2 separate regions of the Homo sapiens genome follow, and region 2 is linked to region 1. The links are contacts of gene promoters, found by promoter capture Hi-C in blood cells and fetal thymus (Javierre and others, 2016). All regions are on one chromosome and are shown on one strand. The core of a region is centred on a gene start or on the middle of the fragment in contact, and the rest is flanking DNA. Distances in the headings are between cores, read along the strand shown. Region 1 holds the start of TMEM161B (transmembrane protein 161B). Region 2 holds the start of ARB2A (ARB2 cotranscriptional regulator A).

Region 1 (5,654 bases), core at 230-2,729:
ACTCAACCTTCTTAACTTCTCCCAAAACTTCCTAGTTTCCCTTCCCAATTCCAACTTCATAACAAAACATCACACTATGGCACAAAGTGAATTCATGGATGAAATTACTAACAGCTACAACTTAAGTAAGGACCCCAAGTCGTGAGACAAATTTCTGGGTTGAAAGTGCTCTGTATATCCATTTCAAGCCTGCCTCCAGTACGATGTCTCATTATAATCAAATAAAAAGGCAGAAAAAGTTGAATGGAATAGAGTTTGGAAAAAACACAAAATTAAAAGTTGTATGAGAGTTTCACTTATTTGCATCTGATATAAATATCTATACATCTATAGAAAAAAAAAACCCTCATACACTCAGTCTGTGTCCCTTTTCCTGACATAAAGCAACTGGCCCTGTGCAAGCTTCTTTGGGATGGCTGAGAACCCCGATATATCGATATATTTATAGATAGACGTCTACATATCTATCCAAATATCTATATCTATCCATATATCTACCTATCTATCTATCTATATATATATCTATATCTATCGATCGATATCTATCTATATCTATCTATCTAGACTTCCCTGGTGAGGGAGTGAACCGCTGCCTGACGGGGGCCAAGACTGGCAGAGCAGAGACGCGGTTTGTACATGAGGGGAGGTGGTGGCCAGAGCAAAAGTGAACCGCAGGCTAGGCAAAGACCACAGCACACAGCCATACAGGTGTCCAGGACCGTCAGATCCCAGAGCATCTATCTATATAGATAGGTATCTATATGGAAAACGTCCATATTGGAACGTATTAAAGAGGCAGAATTTTCTTCCTGGGTTCTCTGCTCTTGGTAGATGTTCTTCCGGCTTCAATTGCCACCTGTGAATAGTGAAGAAACTTCTCACTATGAGATTCCATTGCCCGGAAGGAGGGTAGAGCTACGGTACCCACTAAGGCAGGGAACAGAAGCAACAGACGGACAGGTCTGTGGAAATGAGGATATGCTAATAAGGGACCGAGTCAGGAAAACTAGAGGGTAACAAGAGGGCGTCAGTTAAGCTGAGACAAAATGACGGCCAAAGGTGGTCTTTACTCTCTCTAAATCACCTGGGTCTGGAGTCGACTCCCATCGCGCACCCTCACTCCCACCCCTGGCCCCCTCCCGCCCCCCACCCGCCCCCCTCCCTCTCCCCTCCCGCTCCCCACACCAACGTGTGCCTCCGTCACCTCTCAGACAGTGGATGCGTTCCTGTTGAAACCACCCAATCTACCTCAGGGTCCTCGCAAGCGCAGCCACCACGATCCGCCCGCCCACGTACCTGTGCTGCGCCTGCGCCTCCTCCGCTCTCTCAAGGTCAGCACCGCCCCCAGCCCACAACCTGGCACCCACGGAAGTTGCTTTAGAGGACGTCCTGCGTATCTTCACCTCTGCGTGGCGTGGGGTCGACGGCGCTCTGGAGAAGGGAGGAACTTCCTGTCCCGCGCGCGCACAACTTCCGGCAGAGCCGGAAGACCCTCTCTTTCGCTGTTTGAGAGTCTCTCGGCTCAAGGACCGGGAGGTAAGAGGTTTGGGACTGCCCCGGCAACTCCAGGGTGTCTGGTCCACGACCTATCCTAGGCGCCATGGTGAGTTCTTCTGTGAGGGCAGGAGTGACAACGGTGGGGCGAAAAGGGCGGGGAGGTCAGTACTGTGAAAAGAGCCATCAGGTGCTCTGCTCAGAATGGAGTTGAGACGTTGGGATGAGCTGCTGGGTAGGACCCACCACCTATCTCAGGGTGTCTGAGCCCCTGAGGAAGCAGCATTACGCCTACCTGTCTGGGAGACTAGCGGGCCGGAGGCAGGGGCGTATCTGTCAGGGAGTATGGACTGGGTAGCCTGCCTGTTCATGGCCCATTTACTGTGTATGGCCTGTGGCGCCAGGTGATCCCAGAGTTGACCTTGCCGGGTCAGTCACCTCTTCTGCGCCCCCTTCTCCATCCGCGGAACAGTGGCCAAGAACTTCAGATCTTAGAAATGCTTTTAGCCTCTCCAGGTGGACACAACGGGTCTCCTTGTATAAGATCAACACCTGTCATTTAAAGAAACGGTAGTCCCCTTATTCTTTACACTTAGCCATTTCATAATTGAAAAGGGTGTCAAATAAAAAACCCGAGTTTAGTAAGGACAGACTTTATTCGAAAGGAATATTGCAGGGGTGTGGAGGAAGGTTGAAGGAACTGTTGCAGTAGGGAGAATGACCGTAAGATTTGCATGCACCTTAAAGGTTAGGCAGAAAGGGTTTGTCTTTTGTTGGTAGGGGTAAATAAGATGTCAGGAATTGGGATGAAAATATGGGTATGATCCGGCAGTAACCAGATAATGTTTTACCCTGAGCCCATGTATTCTGAGGAGGAGCTGTTAGGAGAGGTTTGTATATGTTGTTTCAGACTGAGGGAAGGACAAAATTCAGGTACCCGAGAGAAGAGAATCTTAAAGTTTGGTTAATAAGTATTTTGTTCCGATTGATCTGTGGGACAGGTACTTCAGCAAGTCATTTACGAAGCAAAGGATGGGAATTAGAAGGGTCTAGTTATGGCCTTGTTATAGGTAAACAAGGGGTAGGGGGGTATGGATCAACCCTTAGTCTTATCTAAGTTCTACAGGAAAGATGATTCTTTGCAGTAAGCCAATTTCTCAGAACACAAACGGGGGCAAGGGGTTTCTTAACCTTTGCTGTTTTTCAAGATCACGGGGCTCTGGTGAAGTTCATTATTGTCAGTTTCTTCACCGTATACAAGATTTCAAACCCTCACTTGCAGAGGCTTCTGTCCTGGAATTTAGCTTCAGTTTGTCTTATATTTTCAGGGCCAAATATTGCCAACATTCAGTTAATGTGTGTGGTGATTGGCTTTTGAATGACTTTTAGAAACTTAGCTGAATGTAGAACAAAGACCTTCAAAATAATGTAGTTCCTGGTGCACTTTACCAGATAACCTATCTCTTTAAAGTTTTTTTTTTTAAGCCTCAGTGAATAATATGGTTTGTATTAAGAAAGTTGTTTTTCTTTTGTATCAGTGAAATTAGACAAGGATAGGGAAAACAGAACTGGGAGAAACCAAAGCCTAGTAATCACTCTTCCATCCCCATTTTTACAGAAGAAAGAATCTGGGGTCTAGAAATTGACAGTGATTTTTCTAAAGTAACAGTAGTTTGGCAGTCTGGACTAAAACTCATATTTTCATTTTTTAAATTTAAGATTAATTTTTGACTTTTTGGTCTGAAAAGTTGAAGGTAAAGTATAATTAAAATACTTAAGTTCATCATAGTCACAGAAAAGCTGAACATGAACTTGTTCTCAGTGTTTTGGAATACTAGAAGTAGAATCCTGCTTATCCTGTCGGTTCAAAAGAGATGGTTAATGTTTGGAACTAATGTAATCTTATGCTGTTTTTCTGAATGTCATTTTGGAACTAACTAGTTGGCTCTTTTCCTTCTGGAAGTGCTTATATTTCTGAGCTAATTATCTTGGCTGAGTTTTATCTTTCCCAGCTATGAAATTGATAATGTCTGTATATGCAAGTGTGGTTAATGCTTGGAATTTTTCAAAGGGAAGAGTTTAACCATTAAATGAAGTGAACATGGGCTGAATTTATTGAGGATTCAGCTTGTTGAAATCAGAACTTGTTTTGCATTGCTGGGGCCTAATGATATTATGAAAAGAACATTAGTATTGACCCCAGAGGACCCAGATTCTGCCCATTGTTAGTTATATGGATTTGGAAAAGTCACTCAATTTTGATAAGAGTTCCAAATTCCTCCTGGGTAAGAGAAGTGGGACTTGATGGGTATTAAAGCACCTTCTTAAATTTATGATTCCATGACTACTCAACATTTTTGAGGATAGTTACATGTTTCAGATTAAATAAAAGTTAGTCTGATTTCCACTGTTTTGTTTCCATGCCATTTTGGCTTAAGTTTGATTTCTTTTATCATTCTCTTTTTCATTTTTTTCATAAGTCACATAGATAGTACTTGGAATCTTTGTATATTTGGCCAAGTCTTTCACTACTGTCTTAAATACTGCTCCAGAATGGAACACAACTCTTGGAATGTTTTGATTTAATTCTTGTTTTAATCAATGATAAACTAATTCTGTGCTCTCATTCTCTCATACATTATGTATACCGATACTCAATAGATACCTGTGCCTATAACAAGGTTTTTGTATTATGAATGAAGGAGAATAGGATTATGATCCAGACTGAAAATACTGAACTCACGCTTAATTTTTATGCTTTCAAGTTGTTGTGAAGACAAGTCTATAGGAAATTTACTAATGGAATAAAGCCATTTGCTCTATTGCACTTTCCTTTTTGAAAATTACAGACCAACTTTGATCAAATATAAATCTTTCTACCATTCAAGCTAATTTGTGGAAGATAGGTAGATTAGAGCTAGCTCCTGGAATTGCAGATATCACGGCTTGCATCTGTGTATCATCCTGTAGTAACTTACTGCTGTAATTGAACAATGGTTTGTGGGCAGGTGTGGGAGAGTAGGCCATGGGGAGGTTATAAACCTTTGCCATAATCAATTGGATTTGATGAAAAGTTTTCTTTTTGAGGGGAGTGGAGGGGAGTGTTGGGAAGAGTGTGTAAATGCTATAAGAGAAACACATATAATAGGCTCAAAGAGTACAGTGGAAAGAAATTATTTCTAACTGAGAGCAGGTTGGGTCATGTAGTAGGTCACAGGTTCCCAACCCCTGGGACTGTGGACTTGTACTGGTCCATGGCCTGTTAGGAACTGGGCTGCACATCAGGAGGTGAGTGGTGGGCAAGTGAGTATTAATGCCTGAGGTCCACCTCCTGTCAGATCAGTGGTGGCATTATATTCTCATAGGAGCGCAAACCCTGTTGTGAACTGTGCATGTGAGGGACCTGAGTTAGGTGACCCTTAAATGACAATCTAATGCCTGATGATCTGAGGTGGAACAATTTCATCCCGAAACCATCCTTCCTCCACACTGCCTCCACAATGTGTGAAAAAATCGTCTTCCATGAAACCAGTCCCTGGGGCCAAAAAGGTTGGGGACTGCTGTAGTAGGTGACTTCAACTGAGTTTTGAAAAGTGGGTTAATATACTAGTTTTCAAGCTTGAGTTTGCATAGGAATCACCTGTGATACTTGATAAAAAACACTTCTCTGCGCTGATAATTTGGGGTAGCATAAAGTTTTAGAATTGTATTTTTAAATTTTTTTTCAAATTTTACTTTAAGTTCTGGGATACATGTACGGAACATACAGGTTTGTTACATAGGTATACATGTGCCATGGTGGTTTTGCTGGATTTATCAACCCATCATCTATGTTTTAAACTCTGTATGTATTAGGTATTTGTCCTAATGCTCTCCCTCCCCTTGCCCCCCACCCCCTGACAGGCCGCAGTGTGTGATGTTACCCCCTCTGTGTCCATGTGTTCTCATTGTTTAACTCCCACTTATGAGTGAGAACATGGTTTGGTTTTCTGTTCCTGTGTTAGTTTGCTGAGAATGATGACTTCCAGCTTCATCCATGTCCCTGCAAAGGACATGAACTCATTCTTTTTTATGGCTGCATAGTATTCCATGGTGTATATGTGCCACATTTTTGTGATCCAGTCTATCATTGATGTGTATTTGGGTTGGTTCCAAGTCTT
Region 2 (6,223 bases), core at 1,887-4,386, 5.8 Mb before region 1:
TCTGGAGGCTGGGGAAGTCCAAGATCCAGAGGCTGCATCTTGTGAAGGTCATCTTGTGGCAGAAAGCATCACAGGGGGAGAGAGGGTGAGACAGAGTAGTGAGAGTGCACAAGACAGAGAGAAAATGGGGACCAAATTTATCCTTTTATCAGGAGCTCACTCCCATGATAACTAACCCACTCCCACAATAATGGCATTCATCCTTTTATGAGGGCACAGTCCCTATCACCTAAATCACCTCTTTAAAGCTTCACTTCTTAATATTATTACAATGGCAATTATGTTTCCAATGCATGAATTTTTAGAGAACACATTCAAACCACAGCACATTCCTGCTTGGGCTTGAGCAAGGGCAGGAATGTTACTTGATTCTCCAAATTTAAGTCAGAATCCAGACCTCATTCTAATACAGTTGGTTAGTTTGGACAGAGCTTTGCCCTTAGCATCTAATTAAGAATATTTTCCTTAATGGATTTTCTTGAGCTGCCAAAATGTTGGCACTGAGTCCTAGTCATGATAAGTAGGTTTAAATTTTATTTTTAACTTAAATGAACAACATGTAGCCTTGTTAGTATTTTTGGAGGTGTCTGTCTGCTGTATGTCACTGAAATCATTTAATGTGAAGGGTGGGAGTAGATTGATAAAAAGATAGATGCCCAAGGAAGTGGTCTGGAATAGGAGGAGGATACGCAAAATATGGTATAGGGACATTTCTTTGATCATCCTAGTGATCAAAGATGGACCAGCTGTTAGCCAGGAGGGAACAAATCTCCTTTCCTTTTTCCTTATCTTAGTAGGATTTTGAAGTGCAAGAGAAGAGAGGTGGGGAGAGAAACTGAAGTTTCTGGCTTCCCTAGAGATGTATAAATTAAAATTATAAACTAACTTGTACAGTTTAGATGACTATGGTTAAAATGAGGGGACATTTTTGTACTATATTGTGTAGTCATCATTGTAATGGTTTCTGCTAAGCTACACATGGGCTGTTGTAATTCTAACAAAACATCTAAGCCCACATACAATTTTTGTTGCTTTCCCTCCTTTCTCCTCACAGATTTGCAGAAGATATTTTTGTGGTCAGCTGAGGCAGGAGTTTACCATTTAGGGTAGAGTAAGGAGAGAAAAGGACTCACTCTGTTTCAGCACATAACCTCTTCATTCTTGATTTTGACATCTTAGGCAGGATTGGACTTGAAAGGATATTTACTCTTTGGCTGTTGTCATACAGCTATTAGTTTCTTTTGCTGAAAAACAAATCACTCCAAAATTTACTGGCTTAAAGTAACAAGAATCATTTTCATTATCTCTAATTGTTTCTGTGGGTCAGGAATTCAGAACTGGGCACAGTGGGGATGGCTCGTCTCTGCTTTATGAAATTTTGGACCCCAGCTGACTCAATGACAGGAACAATCTGAAGGCTCATTCATTCCCATGTAAGTCCAGCTGGAATTGCAGGCTGAAGCACCCATATGTTTGTTCAATAGTTTACTACTGAACAAAGTACATTCCCCTAACCCTTGAGTGGGCCTCTATCCTGGAAATATTGAAAGGTCATGTCACTCATCTTTTGACCAATCTCCATATTTTATGTAAACATTGGTATATTCTCTTAATGGAATGTTACTTTTTTATTCAATTTTCACTAGTTTTCTCACTTACGTTCTATTTCTATTTCAGGATCCAACATTAAAGTTGGTCTCTTTAGGCTCCTCTTGGCTCAGACAGTTTCTCAGACTTTCCTTGTTTTTCATGACTTTAACTGTTTGGAGTAGTACTGGTCAGGTATTTTGTCTGATGTTTTTCTCATGGTTAAACTGGGATTATACATTTTTGGGAGCCTTATCTTTTTAATATAATCTGTCACTGTTGCAAAAGTCCACCAAAATAAAAATGTTTCCCTCCTCTGTTCAACAATCCTTCAGCTTCCCCAATTGTCTGCAGCAGAAAATCAAATTACTCAGCATGACATAGAAAGCTTTTCAGAATCTGGCTGTTGCCTTCCTCTTCAGTATAAAGTGTCACTCTACAAACCATTTGAGTTCTTTCCGGAAATGAAGCCCTAACAGTCTTGCAATGCCCGAGATTCATTCAGGTACTCAGTTCTGGCTAACTCCAGTGGATTCTCTCACCTTTTACTGCTCCTTATCTCCCGCCACTTACTTACACCACTTTCTTCTTGTCCTATACACTTTTCTAGATTTCCCCAATCTATTATTTACCACTGTGATCATTCAGTCATTCAATAAGTATTTATTGTCTACTTTGTGGACAGGCACTGTTGTATGGTTGAGGATACATTAAAAAGACAAGATTATGTCACTACCATCAGTGAGTTTACATTTTAGGGGGCAGGGTACATTTGCAAAGTACAAACAGTGTGGAAGTGAAGTATACCTTAGAGAGTCTGAGATCTCCTCTCTGAAGAACATAACTGTTGGTTTACTTGTCAGCCACCAGACTTTCCTTCTCTTTAGCTGCCTCAGAGGAGAGGGTATCTAACTCAGCTTTGTTACCCCAGCGTCTAGTTTAGCCTAATTCATTAAATTAACAGTTTTGGACTAAATAAATGCTCTGAGAGTACTATCTAAAAATTAAAAATCAGTTGCTTCCATCCCTTTCCCCAGATTTATCCTTGAAATACCTTTCAAACCTGTTTCTGGAAAAAACATTAATATCCGTAAGATTCCCATTTGAGTCAAGTATGATAACGAGAAAACTTTTGTCATTAGGATGCTAATATTAACTTCCTATTTTACATGTCCTAATTCAAAGGTAAATTTAATCTTCCGAATCTAGACCTCCCGGTTTTTCTGGAGTTGAATGGACAGGGTAAAGTCTGACACACTCTGAGTAGCGGAGTGGGGAACTGGCTGTAAGGACATCCTTAGAATAGTTAAAATTCCGCTGGGAAAACGAGGCTTTAGAGTGGCCTCGTCCTCTACGGCTACCCAGGCAGCCTTCACAAGGAAGGGCGACCAGAGTCCGCCAGTGCATAAGAGAACTACACTTAATTCACGCGGGCCTCTTTCTCCAGTCCACCTAATACCACAGGAACCTACCCAGGGCCCGCGCCCCGCCCGTTTCCGGGTTGTCGCCGCCGCTGCCGTCAAGTGCGTAATGACGTATCAATCTCCTGAAGACCCCGGAAGTGCAACTCGAACTTGGTCGGGGCGCGGATCCCGAGAGGGAAAGTCATAACAACCGCACGAGGGAGTTCGACTGGCGAACTGGAAGGCCACGCCTCCTCCCGCCTGCCCCCTCAGCCCTGTGGCTGGGGGCAGAGCTCAGGTAGGACTGCCGTTTGCGGGGATGTGAGCTCCGGGGGCAGGCCCGGGTCGAAATCAGGAGGGGGCTGGCCTGGGTCGGTCTCAGGCGGTGGTCGCTGGCCCTGGGGACCGAGGCTGTCTGGAACCACGCTGCATTCCCTGCGGACACCTCTGACTTGTGTCTGGGCCTCCGCTGATGGGCAGGTCCCATGTTCCATTTCCACTCTCTAGGCGGGAGCGACGTGTGTGTTCCCTGGATGACTTTCCTTATGTCGGGGCGTACGGGATTCTGGGAGTCCCTGGAGACAGAGTAATGGGCCCTCCTCCGCTTTCTTGCGAGTGGAGGTATTGTGGTTGTTGTATTAATTTTTTTTTCTACAAAAAGTATTATTAACTGCCAGCGCTTTACCAGAAGTCATTCACTGCAGAGGGATTAAAGTGCAGTTATAAAATGCTCTCAAAACTTGTAACATGCATGGGCGCGGGTGGGACGTTTCTCTGGGATGCAGTATGAATTAAGTGTTGAATACTTTTGACTTTGAAATAAAGTAAGTATGTTTTGGAAGCAGTCTTCTCTTTCCCTCATCCAGGTGTTTAACATATTCTTATAGTGCTCCAGGGTCTATATCTGTTGGGCCAAGAAACTCGTTGTGTTTGGATATACTGTATTTAATGACATGCAATGTTGTTGCATTTGTCCATTTCTCCCAAATCCTCAAAAAAGCTGTAGAGGGAAAAATTCTCTGGTTTTTATCTACAAGTGCATTGTATATTTATCAAAATATCAGTGCGATTTTTTAATGTAGTACATGACATCGTTTGCATTAACGCATGCCATATACTGCATAACAAATATCTCATTGATAAGGTGTATTCTTTATCCTACAATGCGAGGGACGGTTACACTGTATACATTTAGCGAATGTAGAAACTGAGTAAGAGAGTATTTTTGGATCTGCTTCGTTAAGGCCTCAGTGACAGTGCTGGTACCAGGCTTCTTTCAGAATTTTCAACTAGGCCTTACTTCCACTTAACCAGTGAATCCTACGCTGAAAAGTTAAGGATGCTCTGGATGCTTTCAGGCTATGGCTGCTCCATATGGTAGAATAAATAGTACCAAGGCCAAGAGGGAAATATTATCTATGAAACCATGAGCATCCACTTGTTTATCCATTTAGCAAGTATTTACTGGCAACCTTCAGTGTGCCGGATAGTGTTCAGGTGATGGGAAGACAGCAGTAAACAAAATAGAAAGTCCTTTTGCTCCTGGAACTTACATTCTAGTGGATGGAGACGTATAATTAACAAGTAAATATATAACAAGTAGTGATTAAGAGGTATAGAGAAAGGCAGGGCGCGGTGGCTCACGCCTGTAATCCTAGCATTTTGGGAGGCCGAGGCGGACGGATTGCCTGATCCCTGGAGTTTGAGACCAGCCTGGGCAACACGGTGAACCCCGTCTCTACTAAAATACAAAAAAATTAGCTGGGTGTGGTGGCGTGCGCCTGTATTCCCAGCTACTCTGGAGGCTGAGGCAGGAGAATTGCTTGAACCGGGAAGGCGGAGGTTGCAGTGAGCCGACATCATGCCACTGCACTCCAGCCTGGGTGACAGATCGAGACTCCGTCTCCAGAAAAAAAAAAAAAAAAAAAAAGAGGTATAGAGAAAAATAAATTAAGGGGAGAGAGAATGATAGAGGATGCTATTTTAGATAGGGTGGTAAGCTCACCCTCTCTGATAAGGGAACACTTGAGTGGAGATCTGAATGAAATGAGGGAGTGAGCTCCGCAAGTATGGAGGAATGAGTTGGCCTAGTACAAAGGCACTGAGACAGGAGCGTGTTTGATATATTTGGAATAGCAAGGATGTAGGCATGGAGGTAGCAGTACTTAACAATCTCAAGAATGAATATTTATTCCTTGATTTGGTGGCATGAGGGATTTTATTTATTTACAGTTTATTTTTTTCAGCTTTCCCAGACAAACCTCTGAGGAGAATCTGGTGTCTGTAGATATGTAGAGATGTTTCTGTGCTCTTCATTGAGCTCTAACAAAAGTAAGCACTATTTACTCAGTTGTATACAACTTGTACTGTCTCTGTTTTTAGAGTCAGATTGGGTTTGCACAGTAGTCATTGGTAACTAAGTATGGAGTATGTCCCTGTACTATGCCAACTTTATTTTTCACTCAGAAGTTTTTCATCATCCCCAACTGAAACTTCATACCTATTAAACACTCACACCTCGTTTTCTGTTACCTTCAGCCCCTGACAACTGCCAATTTACTTTCTGCCTCTATGAATTTGACTACTCTAGGTACCTCATATAAGTGGAATCATGCACTATTTGACCTTTTGTGACTGGCTTATTTCACTTAGTATAATGTCTCCAACGTTCGTCCATGTTGTAGCGTGTGTCAGAATGTTCTTTTTAAGGTGAAATACAATTATCCATTGTGTGCATATGCTGTTAATACATTTTGTTTATCCATTCATTCATCCATGGATGCTTGGGTTGTTTCCATCCTTTGGTTATTGTGAATAATGCTGCTATGAACATGAGAGTGCAAATATCTGTTCAACTCTCTGCTTTCATTTCTTTTCGATATCTCTCCAGAAGGGAAATTGCTAGATCACATGGAAATTTTATATGTATATATATCTATATGTATACTTTTTTTCGAGGAATTGACACACTCTTTTCCACAGCAGCCACCTCATTTTACATTCCCACCAGCAATGCAAAGGAGTCCAATTTCTCCACATCCTCACCAACATTTTGCCACATCCTCACCATTTCTCCACATCCTTGCCAAACACATTTTTTGTTTTTTTGATAATAGCGATCCTGATGGGTGTAAAGTAGTATCTCTCTGTGGTTTTAATTTGCACTTCCCTAATGATTGGTGATGTTAAGCATCTTTTCATGTCCTTTTTGACCACTGGTATATATTTTTGGA

What was found. The method cuts DNA at HindIII sites, captures the fragments that hold promoters and counts their contacts. A CHiCAGO score of 5 or more calls a contact.
Region 2: the fragment with the promoter of ARB2A here is called in contact with the fragment with the promoter of TMEM161B in region 1 in 1 of 17 cell types (naive CD4 T cells); the score reaches 6.0 in naive CD4 T cells.

What each region holds. Positions count from the first base shown.
Region 1 is chr5:88,264,670-88,270,323 of GRCh38, reverse strand. It overlaps TMEM161B (transmembrane protein 161B), which reads left to right and starts at 1,479. Exons shown (of 12, transcript NM_153354.5): 1 at 1,479-1,603. The coding sequence starts at 1,601. TMEM161B-DT (TMEM161B divergent transcript) reads right to left here and starts at 1,442. Exons shown (of 3, transcript NR_039995.1): 1 at 1,297-1,442. RefSeq lists enhancers at 1,313-1,502, 1,193-1,692. The HindIII fragment of the contact is 4,710 bases long and covers 405-5,114 here.
Region 2 is chr5:94,108,576-94,114,798 of GRCh38, reverse strand. It overlaps ARB2A (ARB2 cotranscriptional regulator A), which reads left to right and starts at 3,136. Exons shown (of 11, transcript NM_032042.6): 1 at 3,136-3,288. It overlaps LOC105379087 (a long non-coding RNA gene), which reads right to left and starts at 3,097. Exons shown (of 7, transcript XR_001742441.2): 1 at 3,060-3,097; 2 at 2,395-2,474; 3 at 1,134-1,244; 4 at 1-52. The HindIII fragment of the contact is 15,548 bases long and covers 1,978-6,223 here.